Linked DNA regions of Homo sapiens: region 2 is linked to region 1. The links are contacts of gene promoters, found by promoter capture Hi-C in blood cells and fetal thymus (Javierre and others, 2016). All regions are on one chromosome and are shown on one strand. The core of a region is centred on a gene start or on the middle of the fragment in contact, and the rest is flanking DNA. Distances in the headings are between cores, read along the strand shown.

Region 1 (7,550 bases), core at 2,857-5,356:
ATGAATGGGTGTTGAATTTTGCCAAATTTTTTTTTGCATTGACTGAGATCATACGAATCATATGAATTTTCTTCTTTATTCTGTTTATGTAGTGAATGACATTGATTGATTTTCAAATGTTGAGCCAATTTTGCATTCCTCAAAAAAGAATCCCACCTGGTAATGCTATCTTGCTCTTTCAGATGTCGCTGGATTTGATTTGCCAATTTTGTTTTTGTTTTTGTTTTTTTGAGATGGAGTCTCACTCTGTCACCCAGGCTGGGTGCAGTGGCGCAATCTCAGCTCACTGCAACCTCCACCTCCCAGGTTCAAGCAATTCTCCTGTCTTACCCTCCTGAGTAGCTGGGATTAAAGGTGCCCACCACCTTGCCTGGCTAATTTTTGTATTTTTAGTAGAGATGGGGTTTCACCATGTTGGCCAGGCTGGTCTCAAACTCCTGACCTCAGGTGAGCCACCTGCCTCGGCCTCCCAAAGTGCTGGGATTACAGACATGAGTCATTACACCTGACCTTGATTGGCCAATATTTTGTTAAAATTTTTGCACCTATGTAAGAAATATAGGTGTGTGATTTTCTTTCCTTTTTATTTCTTGGTATCAGGATTATTCTGAATTATAAATTAAAAAGTGTTCTCTCTTCCTTTGTTCTTTCAAAAGAGTTTATATAAAATCAATATTACCTTTCTTAAATGATTGATAAACATTTACTAGTGAAGCCATCTTGCTCTGGAATTTTCTTTTTAGGACCTTAAAGATATGGGGTGATTCAAATGTTCTATTTCTTCCTGTGCCAGTTTTGGGAAGTTGTATTTTTCAAAGACTTTTTCCATTTAATGTAAATTATCGAAATGATCAGCATAAAGTTATTCATAATGTTTTCTTATTATATTTTCAATTTCTGTATATCTGTAGGGATCTTCCTCTTTTATGCTTGATATTTGTTATTCGTGTTTTTTTGTCCTGCTCAATCTCACTAGGAGTTTAGCAATTTTGTTAATATTTTCAAAGAACCAACTTGTAAGTTGGTTAATGTCTCATATTATTTTTTATTATTTTTTTCCTCCTATTCACTTCGAGTTTAATTCACTTTCTTATTCTAATGTCATAAGGTGGAAACTTAGATAATTGATTTCAAACCTTTTTTCTTTACTAAAATAAACTTTTAAAGCTATAAATTTCTCTTGAAGGACTGTTCTGACTGCATTCCACATATTTTGATGCAGTTTCATTATCATTCTGTATGCCGTGTTTTCTAACGTTCTTACAACCATGCCTGGCATAAAGTACTTAGTAAGTGTTCCCTCCTGTTAGCTCCAGTTTTTGTTTTTTTTTTTTTGAGATGGAGTCTTGCTCTGTCGCCCAGGCTGGAGTGCAGTGGTGCGATCACAGCTCACTGCAAGCTCCGCCTCCCGGGTTCACGCCATTCTCCTGCCTCAGCCTCCTGAGTAGCTGGGACTACAGGCGCCTGCCACCACGCCCAGCTAATTTTTTGTATTTTTTTTTAGTAGAGACAGGGTTTCACCGTGTTAGCCAGGATGGTCTCGATCTCCTGACCTCGTGATCCACCCGCCTCGGCCTCCCAAAGTGCTGATATTACAGGCTTGAGCCATCGCGCCCAGCCTAGCTCCAGTTTTTGTTTCTCTTGTTAACAAGTGAGAATGGGCCCCTTCAGAGCCTCTTTGCTGTTTCCACTGACTGAAATACTATTCCTTCATATAGGCCCAGAATTCTAATAAATTCCCATTCATTGTGCAGGTGTGACCTCAGACAGCGTTACCTCAAAGAAGCTCTCCCTGATGAACCAGACCAGGATGGTCCTCTCATGTACTAAGTTGAATAGTGACCACCCCCAAAAAATTCATGTCCACCCAGAACCCATGAATGTGACCTTATTTGGAAATAGGATCTTTGCAAATATAATCAAGTTAATATGAGATCATAAGATCACACTGGATGAGGGTGAGCCTTGAATCTAATATGGCTGGTGTCTTTATGAGAAGAAAGAAACTTGGAGACAGAGACACAGACACACAGAGATAATACCATGTGACAACAGGGGCAGAGACCAAAGTGATGCATCTACAAGCTGAGGAAGGCCAAGGATGGCCAGTAGCCACCAGAAGCTAGGAAGAGGCAAAGAAGGATCCTCCTCTAGATCTTTAGAGAGAGCACAGCCCTGCTGACACCTTCATTTCAGGCTTCTACCATCTAGAACTGGAAGACAATAAATTATCTTGCTTTAAGCCACCCAGTTTAGGGCAATTTGTCACTGCAGCTCTAGAATGTAATATGCCAAGTTACACGTTTCCATACTTTCCTATATTTTTCTTTCCTAGCTCTTATCAGACAATTATTACATATAAATTATCAGGAAATATGGATGGTGTGATAATACTTACTAGTCTGGCTTTTCTTCTCTCTCTCTCTGAGATGGAGTCTCACTCTGTTGCTCAGGCTGGAGTCCATTGGCGTGATCTCGGCTCACTGCAACCTCCACCTCCCGGGTTCAAGCAATTCTCCTGTCTCAGCCTCCTGAGTAGCTGGGATTACAGGCACAAAAAAGCCACTATGTCCAGCTAGTGTTTGTATTTTTAATAGAGATGGGGTTTCACCATGTTGGTCAGGCTGGTCTTGAACTCCTAATTTCAGGCAATCCACCTGCCTTGGACTCCCAAAGTGCTGGGATTACAGGCATGAGCCACCATGCCCGGCCTAGTCTGGCATTTTAGTAGAGCCCTCCTTAAGGAAGACTAACATAACCCCAACCAGTGTCTCCAATGGCAAAGATTTTGAAAGGCAGATAATTTCGAAGGAGACTGTCCTTAAAATCACAGTATGTCAGTGGCCAGCTTTAGCTTCTCAATGCTAGCCTTGGGTCACAGGGTTTTCTAGTGTGAAAATTATCCAAACGAGTAATTTCTTATAGCAACAGATTGTCAAAAAAAAGACACTGATGCGCAAGTCATGTGGGAGTCTGAAACATTGGTTCTGCTCTCCTCTGCCTCCAGGGGGTCTTGGCCAAGTCACTCAACCTCTCTGGGTTCCAGGCTCTTAACTGTAAAAGAAGGTGATTGGGGCTACACAGTAGAGTCCCTTTGGCTCTAACCTTCTGAGGCTTCATGGTTTCTTCCGTTAACAGTAGCTGAATCCAGGAAGAGGAGGTGACCCAGGCGGGTGCTGGACCAAGAAGGATTCTGTGTTAAGATGTAGAACTGCCAGTTCTGTCTATGCTTGTTTTACTTGATAAATGGAATGGAGTAGACGTTTCTAGGGCTCTTGTTTTTAAAAATCTTTTAAAGTGGCTGGATTGCTGGTCACTTCCTATCTCTGGGCCACAGTGCATTCACCTGTATACAAGGTGGAAGAAAGGATGGAACCCGGGATTCCCAAGGTCTCTTCCGGCTCTCAAGTGCAAAGTTCTGTGTCTTCAAAGCAGTTTATTGCTAAGCCAGAGAGCTAAGAGAGCTTAGCCTTGTACTAAGTGTAGGTCATGGGGTCAATCTCAGGAACACCCTTCGCTTTATTTCTTCTCATAACCATTGCGTGTGTTGGGGAGGGCTGGGGCAGTCTGCCTCCCCCAACATAGGCACTAACATATGCCATCGACGGGCAAGAATGAAATCCTGGCTCTACCTCTCACGAATCAGGTGGATCTCAAGAGAGACTGAATAAGTGTGAGCCTCCGTTTCCCCATCTGTGAAACAGGGAGAGTTACCGGCAAAGGTGTAAATGTCAAGAGTTGAGCAACAATGCCTAGTCCTTACCAGGTTTTCAAGCGCTATTTTCCATAACCGTTAGGAGCGCTAAGGAAAGATAAACTGCGGTGTCCTAAGTACGCTGAGGCTCGCTGACGACCAGACGAGCACCACGCCACAGTACTGGGTGCCTCCGTGCTCCCACGTCCACATTTCCCGTGCACAGCACACTGGCGTGGCCGCGCGGGTCCACGGAACAGCCCAGCGCTCGGACGCCAATCATCCCGCATCAGGCTCCGCCCCCCAGCGCTCAACGCGCCCCTCGGCGTGCGCGCTCCCGCCGCCAGCGGGCGCGCTCCGGGCGCAGGCGGTGACGTGTTGCCGGCGGGGGCCGGGCGGGGGTGCGGCTCCAGGAAAGGAGCGCGGCCTCCAGGAAGCCGGCTGGCCGTGATGCTGCCCACTGGTGGTCCCCCGCTCCCGGGGTCCCCGGCCGGCCAAGCAGGTGAGGTTGCCTTCCGAGCGTGGGTGAGGGGAGGGCGGGCGGCCGAAGGGGCCGGCGAGTGGGTTGGAGTGCGGGGGCCGGCGGCGCGGCGAGCGGGCCGCGGACGAGCCTCTCTGCCCCAGGCCCCCACAGCCGCCTGCTTAGCCCCGCGGACCGGTTCCCGCCTCCCCTGCCGCGCGGCCACATCCGAGCGCCCCGGGACCAACCCCTGTGAGCCCTGGCGGCCGGCGCGCTCCCCCAGCCCCTGGCAGGGGACACCTGGCGGTCGCGCGCCTCGGGTGACCGCTCGGGATCCCCCCCTCGAATGGGCGGAGCTTGACCGGGCAGCAGGGATGCTGCACCCGGGACCCAGCCGGCCCTGCCTGCCGCTTTAAATGATGACATTCGCTCGTCTTGTCGTTTTCGCTTTGCTTTGCTTTTGCCAGATTTCATGTTAGATTTCTTCTTGGAAAAATGGAGCTTATTGGGCAGTAAAGTGATGATGCACAGCATTGTTTCTGAACTTGAGTAATGCGCGGACCCCTTTTAAAGGAACAATTCTCTCATGGTCTAGAATGTGTCCCAGAACCCTTAGGGTGCTTCAGACCCCAGTTAGATGAACCCTAGTGCAGAGCGTTTTCAGAGAACACTTATCACGAAGGAAACTAAAGAGATCCTTTATGATTCAGGAACTTTCAGGCTAGAAGGTAAACTAGAGGTAATGGAAGAATTCTAAATTAGACACTCAAAGCCCAGGCTAATTTCGCATTGCAGTCTTTGTTGTCTCCTTTTTGTGATGAAAATACCAAATTATCCAGCTTTAGAGAGGCCTAAAAGAGTTATATTATTTGTGTTACCATATATTTGATGTTTTTGTATCAGGTTTGTTAATTCTGTTTGACATAGTAGAATTATAAAATGGAACACTAATTCGTGTAGTTGAATCGTTTATTTCTCTGTTTACCTTAACAGAGGTCTTGTAGTTGTTGCATGTTGAATCTATGGCTTATATTCTTCTACCTCTAATAGGAAATGTGTGACTGAGGCCCTTGAGGATATAGTCTAGGAAGGAGACAAAAATGAACATTTATCTAAGGATTTATATTCTCTACGTATTTACTCAGCATGTTTATTTAAAATAGACTACTCATGAATAAAGAGACGATTCCAATTGTAAGAAAACATCAGGATGTGTAACAGGTTAAATCTTGACAAAGAAACATGTTGACTTGTGCCTTGAAAGAAGTGTAGTCTTGAGAGGAGGACACGGTGGTGGCTCGGAGGAAGTGCTGTTAGTAAATGCCTGAGGCAGGCATGGAGACAGCTTGTGTGGGAGAGAAGAGAGAGACCTGCTGCACTGGAGCTGAGAGATGGTATCTGGGACTGATGAGAGGATAGGTTGGTGAGATAAGGTGGACCAGTTGATGGATAAAAGGTTTCAGGTGCCACACAGGAAACTTGGTGTTGATCCATGGCCTTCCAGAAGGTTCTTAGCTGATCATATTTTGAAGGCCGTGTTTTACAAAGAGTTGCTTGTAAAGTGTGGCGTGCACAGTGAAGGCAGAAGGTGGGTGAGTCGCCAAGAGATCTGTCTTGAGGTAGTGGTGCCTGCTGTGGTCATCTTAGATATGAGGGATATCTGAGGAAGAATCGACTGGCTTGGAGAATGATAGAAGATTGTCAACACCGGATGTGGGAATCAAAGCTGAGAACCAGGTAATCCAGGTCAATGGGGATTGGTGGTACCCGTCTTAGACCTGGAGAATTTGGAGGGTGGTATTAGAGTTTGCATTAGAAGATTTCAACCCTAGAGTTGGACTAGTTGAGCTTGCAGTAACAGGGCTTCAATGAGCTTGGAACGTGGAACTGGAACTTGAGGAAAGTCAGAGTTAATTCAGGAAAAGTGACCAGAAAAAGACTACTTAAAATGGGAACCAGAATTTTGCAAATTAATAGAGGGAGGAAGAGGTTAAGATTTTATATTGAAAAATAAAATTAAAATGTGTAAGATAAATATTGAACATACAGATCATAAATGCAACTACATACATATCTTCTTAAAGAATGAATCAAGTTGTCTTCATGTATCTTTTGTCACTACTGAGTAACGGTGCCACCCGGCAGCCTCCACATCAGCCTCTCACTCTCAGAAAGACAGTTGTTTCTTGCAAAACGCTGCCGGAATGGTTGAGAGCATCTTTAATTTTTCCAGGTTCTCTTGAATCCTTTGATATTCAAATCATTCTTTTCTGAAGTACCCTTCCCTGTGGTACCTTTGCTTATTCAGAAGCTGAGCTCTCCCAGAGGCTGACTTCTCTGTGATTTTGTTTGCCTGTGATTTGAGTTCACTAACATCTGTTTCCTTGCATCTTGTGTTTTTCCACCAGAGGAACCATTTCCCTTTGTGGTTGATTTGCATTGTTTTCGTCGTTATCTGTAGAACTGTCAGTGAGAGACTGACAAAGACATTGACACCTGACTGTAGGCTTTATTCCAATAATGTTCAGCCAAGTAGGGCCCCACTAGCTGAAATCATGAGAATTAATGCATCTCTCTGGTGATAGGTCTAACACAATTTAGGCTTTTTTAAAACATGTCAGTTTTATGTGGTATTACTGAATTTGCCTCCCAGTGCCCTGGTGCGAAGATTCTTAGCTAGAAGGACAATTGGAGTTTACATTTGAAGATCAAATTACCATTTAACTCTTAGGCAATAATCCATTGTACTTTTGTCCTGAGTTAAAATTACAGTGCTTCAGCAGTTATAAGCTGTCCTATTTTCTCTGCTTTTAAACACAAGCTTTGTAACTTAAAATATCTGTTTGTCCTTTTGATCAAAATCATCACATATCTCAAAAAAAAAAAATTCCTGAGACAAACCTCAGATGACACAAAGTTTCCTAAGTGCGCTGTGATCATTCTCTCGGTCACCTTCCTCTTCGAAGTGTGTTCTTTCTCACCCCATCTAGAATTGACCTCCCACCTCTAGGAATCTTTTCCTGCTAAAGCTAGCCTTCTCTGTGCTCTTCTCTGAGCTCTTATAACAAGAATCCCAGTAATTTAACATTGCCTTTAATTAGTATCTTGACTATTTTCTGGGCATTAGTATTTTCTCTGTAGCAATCTGCAAACTCCATGAAATTTGGAGTTGGGTTTGTTACTCCTCATGTCACCTTCGTAGTCCTGACTTTCTTCCTCAAGGACCAGTTTGCCTTTAACCATGACTTTAAGCTGTTAAATAAAACTGTCTTTTCTTTGGTTCTCAGTTCAGCTATCACACAACTATCACTGATGTTTTTTTTAAATGTTCAGATTGGAATTCCTGTGTCCTGATAGGCTTTTAAGATAGGCTTTCTCAATATATTCGGAAAAGTA
Region 2 (7,550 bases), core at 2,214-4,713, 3.0 Mb after region 1:
ACTCTCACTCTTTTCTAGAGTGAAGATGTTATCAACTTGCCTGGCTTTCACTGGTCTTCTCCACTTAGACATGATTATAGGTTGCAAACAAATCGTAAAACGGGCCAAAAATGGGCAGCAAGAGACACTAAGTGATGATCTAAAAGCATGTACAAACTAAAGAAGAACTAATCAAGAGCTGACTATGCATGCACATGTCTTTAAGACGCTGAAATTGCTATTTTAGCCAACATATGCGCTATCGAAATGATCAAGTCTATTTGATTATTTGATATTGCACATGTTGGCTAAAATAGCAATTTTGATAATTTGATACTGCGTTTGTTGGCTAAAATAGCAATTTCAGCCACGGTCTATTATTTTAATCTGTTCATCATTCGTCCATTGAACAAATGTTCACTGGGCACCTGTTTTGTGACAGACACTCTGGTTCTGGGGCTACAGCAGAGACTAGGACAGAAAAGATCTCTATCAAATTTATATTTAGGGGAGGAGATGGACAGTAGACAAGATATTTTGGTCATGTGATTTTGAATCAGCAATACCTCTGCTTTCTTTTATCAATATTAATAATGATGGTAGAATAAGAACTTTTGGCTCCTATTAATGATTTGATATCTCAAGGCTGTGTCCAGCCCTTGAAGCCATGGAGAGCTTTGGCTAACCCACTTTTTGTATAGATAATATGCATTGGAACTCAATGACTGGCTCTGTCCCCCTGGATATTATTGTCATGAGTCATTGCTTGGAAACCCCAACATAATCTTAAGAGGTGGTAAGCCTCTACAGATGACACCTCTGCTGCCTTCAAGCAGCTGTCTCCCACAGAGCCCAGCATCATACTGGGGCCATATTTCCTGATTTCTTCGTGCTCCCTTCCTTAGTCTGGGCTGCCATAACAAATTACTCCAGACTGGATGGCTTAACACAAACATATTTCTCATGGCTGTAGAGGCTGGGAAATCCAGGATCAAGGTGCCAGCAAGTTGATGTCTGGTGAGGACCTGCTTGCTAGCTTGCAGATGTCTGTCTTCTTGGAGAAGAAGAGAAGAAGAGAGAAAGAGAGAGGAAGCAAACTGATAGAGTTTGAATATATGTCCCCGCCAAACCTCATGTTGAACTGTAATTCTCCATCTTGGAGGTGGGGCCTGGGTGGGAGGTGTCTGGGTCACAAGGGCGGATCCCTCGTGGTTTAGTGCTATCCTGGCAATAGTGAGTGCATTCTCTTGAGATCTGGTTATTTAAGAATGTGGCACTACCCACCCTCATTATCTCTTGCTCCTGCCCTCCCGTGTGACGTGCCTGACTCCCTATTTGCCTCCCACCATGAGTAAAAGCTCCCTGAGGCCTCCCCAGAAGCTGAGCAGATGCCAGTGCCATGCCTGCAGAACCGTGAGCCAATTAAATGCCTTTTCTTCATAAATTACTCAGTCTCAGGTATTTCTCTGTAGCAACGCAAGAACAGCCTAACACAAAAACAAGCTCTCTCCTGTCTCTTCTTACAAGGGTACTGATTCCATTACGAGGGTTCCACCCTTATGACCTAATCACTTTCCAAAGGCCCCACCTCCTAACACCATCACACCGGGGGTTCTGAGTTCAGCTTATGAATTTGGGGAAACAAAATCATGCAGTCCATAACTCCCAATTTTCCTTCAGGATCCATTTTTCCTGTAATTTTTCAGGAAGCATGTCAATGACAGTTCAATTAAGTACTTTACATGCCAGTTCTAGTGCTAGGAACACTAAATACATTTAAGCTTCAAATTAGACATGATTATCCTCATTTTACAGAAAAAGAAAGGAAGACCAGAGGGATTGCAGTATTTCCCTCAATCACTCAGTTTTGGGGCAACAAAGCTTGTACTAAGGCCCCCTCCAGAGTCTTCTCTATGTACAACATGGAGACATCCCAGGCAGGTGGTACACAGAAGGCACACAGGCCAGGAATAAGGCCCAGGCCAGTGTCCTGGGCACCTGCTGCCACCGACCAGCCACAGGGTCTCACGGACCACCTCGGAGTTTGAGTTTCTAATATGTAAAATCAGTGTTGGGCCTTCGCTCTCCATGTGTTATAAGTTTCTTAAGGAGGTTAAGGCCTATCTGAAAGAGCCAAAGGGGTTAAAACCTGCAAAATGTGGGGTGGGAGCACGTGCATCCCAGCAGGAGAGATTAGCAGTCCTGGAGGGGGGGGATCTGGTGGGGGAGGGATAAGGCAAGTGGAGTTGTGAAGATGCTGAGGTTTTAGACTTAAGACCTTAAACAAGTCAGATGGAGATGGGGTCTCCATTTGTGTCAAGTAGGGCAACCAGGGCTGGTGACATAGGACACAGTGCAGGCAGCTTCACTCTGGGGACTTTGGCTTCATGGCAGTGGCTCAGGAAAGACTCTGGACCCCAGGAGGTCACAGCCCCAGGAGCTGGCTGGGATCGTGGAGACTGTCTGATGTGAGCACACAATGGAGGAATGTGCCCCCCGGAGCCCACATGCACTCATTTCTCTTCTCTACAAGTCTTTGGCTGCTGGAAGAACCCAGGTGCAGAGAGTTGGCCAACCCTTAACCTCTTGGGCTCAAGCAATCCTCCCACCTCAGCCTTGTGAATAGCTGGGAATACAGGCACGTGTCACCACACCAAGCTATTTTTTTAACATTTTTTTATAGAGATGAGGGGTCTCACTATGTTGTCCAGGCTTGTCTCGAACTCCTGGGCTCAAGTGCTCTTTATACCTTAGCCTCCCAAAGTGCTGATTAGAGGCATAAGCCACCATGCTGGCCAACTCAGCTTTTCAAGTAGTTCCTCTTATCTTTTGTTATGTAACTGTTCACACCCTGTTCCTTTAGGGTTTTGTTAAAGGCCAACCATCTAACCCCAAGTCAGTGGTTCTCTCTGAACATTTAATCCCTAAAAACAACAACATCACATTCAACTCACAAAAGGCCCAACTGCATTATGGTAACCAGGGTTGAAATTCACCTCAGCAGACTTCCAAAACTCACATGGCTGGGATCTAAGTAGGCAAATGCCTGTATTATATGTCTCTGTGATGGTAAATGGGGCTAAGTCACCAGAGTCCAGGAGCCTCACACTTCTGCCAGGAGCCATGGAGCGACATGGCTGCTCTCCTCTCACCCTTCCCTTCAGGGGCCCCAACAGGCTTCCCAGGCCTCAGCGGATAGACGTGAACTTTCCAGCCCCTGGGCTGAGGTGTCTCAAGGGACTTCTTGAATTACAGACCCAGACACCAAGAAGCCTCCCCTTCTCCATTTGGGTGTGCTGTGGCAAAAAGAGAACAATTCCCTCCTTTCCACCTCCAAGCTTGTTTTTAGCTCTCTCTCTCTCCTAGCACCTAACTCATCAGCATACAGAGTAGTTTTGATAGAACCCCTATAAGGCTTTCTCTCCAAAGAGGGATTTTAATACCCTTCTCAGTGACATTTTATATGATAACAGTATGTAAGTTTGACAGGAAGCTGTTTTCCAAGAGTTAAAGTCCAAACAGTCCCACAGATCAGACTGATAATGGCTTTCCTGATCATTATTAAATTCCCTGTGATTAGAAAATGGGCCGGTGCTATTGATTTAAGCTCTTTGAGTTAAGCTAAGCTTTAGAGGGCTTTCACAAGGCACAAAAAGGGCATTTGAGACTGTATTTTACCTTCCCAATTAAAGTAGTTTTCAGAGTACAAACAGCAGACAGCCAGACATTAGGCAGGCGTTCCAGAAAGAAAGGTGGAAGCATTTGTCCAGAACATGGAACCAGAAGACAAGCCCCATCACAGCCAAGACAAGCCCCATCACAGCCAATGCTGCAAAGTGCAGACAGAGGTTGAGGCTCAAATTCCCTAAGAAAAAAGGCTTCCTACTCCCAACAGTGCCTGGGTCAATGACACTTTGAATTCAACCTCAAAGCATCTATAGGTGATAAGAATTTCCAGTCCTAGAATTTTGAGTTTCAAGGATTTCAATTTCAATTTCAAGGATTTTTTCATGTGGTCTTTCAATCATGGTCAAGCTGTCTATACAAATTTTGCATCAAGAAATTATCGCCAAATCTCCAAAGGCTAAAGATTCCAGATTACTTTTTCAGCTTAATAAGTGAGAAAAGAATGAAGGCAACGGTGTTTCTATTACAATCTAAAGCTCTAGAGAAAACAAGGATCCCTAGAGGAAAATCTTGAGCAATTGCAGGGTCTTAAGTGCTTTGTGTCTTTCTGAAGGAAAGACACTTGAGGTTTTTAGGTGCGCCTGCAGTGCCTATTTGTTGCCCAGACAATAAGCAGTTTGAGCGACTGTGCTCAGGCCCCTGAGCATTTCTTCTCTTGACTGCCTGTCTTCTAATCCGCCCCAACCCCAGGAGAGCTTTTCTGAAACCAGTTGCTTCCTCTCCAGCTGGGAGGTCTTGGTGCCCAATGTCTTTGATTCTGCCCACAAGGGGCTCAGCATCCAAGCTAGGAGCCTTGTCATACGCATCCTGTCACTGTTTTTTTTCTTTTTTCAAACCATGATCAAAAGTAAGAAACTTATTTTTAAACCACAACCCAGCCTGTGACAGGCATTTAAGACAAAAACGAAAGTTTCAGCAAATAATACTCATGCGTACTAGGGGCATTTTGATGTCACAGCCCGCAAAATTGATGTTATGGTTCCAACAGGTGTCAGCCTGCAAAATGAAAACTGCTCGGTGTTATCAAGGATCACAAACATTCCTTTAAAATGTATTTATTTAGCAATTACTTAGAGAGCACAGGGCATGTGCCTGTGTTAACTGTTGTATGGGGACAGGGAAGAATATGGAAGTCTCTCCCCTCAAGCAGCTCACAATTGACATGGAGAGGCATAACTGATATGTAGGAAGATGTAAATAGCAATGCCTAAGAGATTGGTGTTCAGATGGAGCATGGGTCTGTGCAGTAGAGATACCAGGAGGGAGAGGTGGGGAGGGGCCTGCACACTGAGGAGGTTGGGAAAGCTGCAAGGCAACTGTTATCATCCTTGGGGGAGCTGTAACTCCTGCACCTTACTATCCCTTGCAGGTACATGTGCATCACAGGCTTTCAATAATTGTGCATTGAATGGCTCTCTGGTTAGATCATATTAAGGTTGTGAAGGAATCCAATCGCCAATGCTTGTTGAGCAAACTAAAGTATGCCTGGGTCTGTGCTGGGAGTTTAACCTAGTTATCATATTTACTCCTCGTGACAAGCTAGTGTAGTAGTTGCTATTGTCCCATATTTAATGGTGAGGAAATTGACCCTGAGACATGTTCAATGGCTTACCCAAGGTCGCGCAACTTAAGTAAGGTGAGGATCTAAGACTTAAACCTAGACTTTTAAATCCAAAGCACTTGCTCCTTCCACTCCCTTGAGGACCACATAGATTTAGATAGCCTTAGGGGAGACCAATGAGGACAGAGTCTAGGAAGGGAAATGGTGCAAGCATCGTGCATGGCATCTTTTGGGAACAAGTGAGGAAACCAGCAAGATAGAAGTAGAAGTTTCATTTTAGGAGAAAGGCGGGCAAGGGCCAGGTTAGATGATCATGAGGAGGGAGATAGAGCTAGAAAATAACTTTGTGTTGCTGAAAAATACCGATATCAATAACAACAACAATGATTTTTTTTATTTACAATATGCTATGCACCATTTCAAGGTTCATATCTAGTTAGTAATTTTATTCTACAGTTAAAGAAACTTGGCACAAAAATTGCTGAATAGCTTGTCTAAGATCAAACAGAATAATATTTGATAATCCTAGGCTAGTGTGAAATTGGTGTTGCCATTACCAATGTACTATTTTTGCTCCTCTACTTTTTTTTTTTTTGGAAACAGGGTCTCACGCCCAGCTGGAGTACAGCGGCATCACCACAGCTCACTGCATCCTCGATCTCCCAGGCTCAAGCAATCCTCCTGCCTCAGCCTCCCAAGTCGCTAGGACTACAGGTGCAAGACACCATGCCTGGCTAATTTTTTTTTTTTAATTTTAGTAGAGATGAGGTCTATGTTGCCAGGCTGTTCTCCACTTTTTCTAAATCCAGTTCTTGCTGCTCAGTGGGAACCATGAGCTCAGGGTACCTGCAGCAGGCACTCCAGTGCTCTCCTCAGATCCCCTCATCAGGGCTGATTTGTCAGTTCCCAGATGCTGAGAATACTGACTGCTGAGGATTCACAGCTGTGACCCTGACTGCGCGATGCCCTAAGCCACAAAGAATTCCCTTGCCCAAGGTTACACCCCTCCAAAGAGACAGCCTGTGGCCAATGATGGACTGATACGGGAATCCAAAAAGTTTCAACTTTGTCTCAACTGGGAACAACTCTGAAAGGTCGGAAAGGTCATCCTAGCTCAAAGCTCCCCACAGAACTGGCTGAATCCTCAGTGGAAACTATTTTTTAGGTCAGTAAATTTCAGCTACTGCTGCTTTCTTCTTTCTCCTCCTCCTTCTTCTCTTCCTCCTCATTCCCCAACCCTCCCTTCCTCATTTTTTTTGAACAGGTGTTTTTCCCAAGAGCACTCCCTAATAAACCCTGAGTGAAATTCTCCATTTCATAGTCTGTTTCCAGGGAACCCAGTCTGAGCCCATTAATACCAGGATTGGACCTAGAAAGTGGGCTATCAAATATGCTTTTGGAGGTGAATTATTCCCTGGCCAGTTGGCAATGAGGACTCCATCCTGGTGGTCAGTATAGTATGGGTAGTGTCTGGTGTGCTTTAGCAGTGCAACTGCAAAATGTCTACCTAGCTTAAAGGTATTAGAACACCAGTAAAAGGTGATGCACTGGCTGGAGTAATATCTCTGGCACCTTAGAGGCATGAGGGAAATAATAACTCGAAAGACCATGGAATTGGTGGCCGTTGTTGAGTGCTACAGATTCACTCGCTGAAGAGAGATAGTATAAAACTCATGATAATCAGTTGATAATTCAAGGTAAAATGTGAAAGCCAGGTGATTTCCTTTGCAGCATTTAAAAAAAAAAAAAAAAAACTATAACAGAGGGTCATCCACACAAAAAATCGGATTCAGTAATTAATCATGTAATAGCAACAGAACTTCAGGGAAGACTGAATTCTCAGCTGAGAGGTCTCCTATGCCAAGGTCAAGGCCATAACAGAAAAGGAGTAGGACTCTGACACTTGGGATGTGATTACCTGGGTAATGATGTAGTTGAGAATTTTTAACTCCCATCTTCCCCCAAACCTGCTGGCCTGCAGAAGTACCTATTCCTCTTGATAGAGGATAGTGCCCCCACTTCCTTGCCTGAGTATCATACAATGATGGCAAATGAGTCAGCTGCCTTGCAAGACTGAACTGGCCCCCTGGGGATTCCTATGCCAATCTTTCTTTCCGTCAATCAGACCAATAGGAAAAGTCAAATCAACAAGACCAACAAGGCCAGAGAAGGAGGGAGTATGTGGAAGAGAGGGACTATACACCAAAGGGGTGCAGGTTCTGGCTGATATGTACCAAGAAGAGATGGGAGTGTGTGCATTAGGCTGGATTCTGAGGGCAATGAGTCAAGGGGATGGAACACAGTTGGATAAAGGGGGTTATAT

Evidence for each region. Contacts are between HindIII fragments. The CHiCAGO score rates a contact against its expected background, and 5 or more counts as called.
Region 2: a contact is called between a fragment that was not itself captured here and the fragment with the promoter of ENTPD4 in region 1, in 1 of 17 cell types (non-activated CD4 T cells). The highest score is 5.4, in non-activated CD4 T cells.

What each region holds. Positions count from the first base shown.
Region 1 is chr8:23,454,203-23,461,752 of GRCh38, reverse strand. It overlaps ENTPD4 (ectonucleoside triphosphate diphosphohydrolase 4), which reads left to right and starts at 4,106. Exons shown (of 13, transcript NM_004901.5): 1 at 4,106-4,196. ENTPD4-DT (ENTPD4 divergent transcript) reads right to left here and starts at 3,982. Exons shown (of 5, transcript NR_186533.1): 1 at 3,764-3,982; 2 at 2,399-2,539. RefSeq lists a silencer at 3,893-4,572 and an enhancer at 6,438-6,939. The HindIII fragment of the contact is 7,512 bases long and covers 1-6,977 here.
Region 2 is chr8:20,490,346-20,497,895 of GRCh38, reverse strand. No RefSeq gene overlaps it. Among named protein-coding and RNA genes, the nearest start is that of SNORD3F, 120 kb to the left of the region's middle. RefSeq lists an enhancer at 4,002-4,540. The HindIII fragment of the contact is 288 bases long and covers 3,320-3,607 here.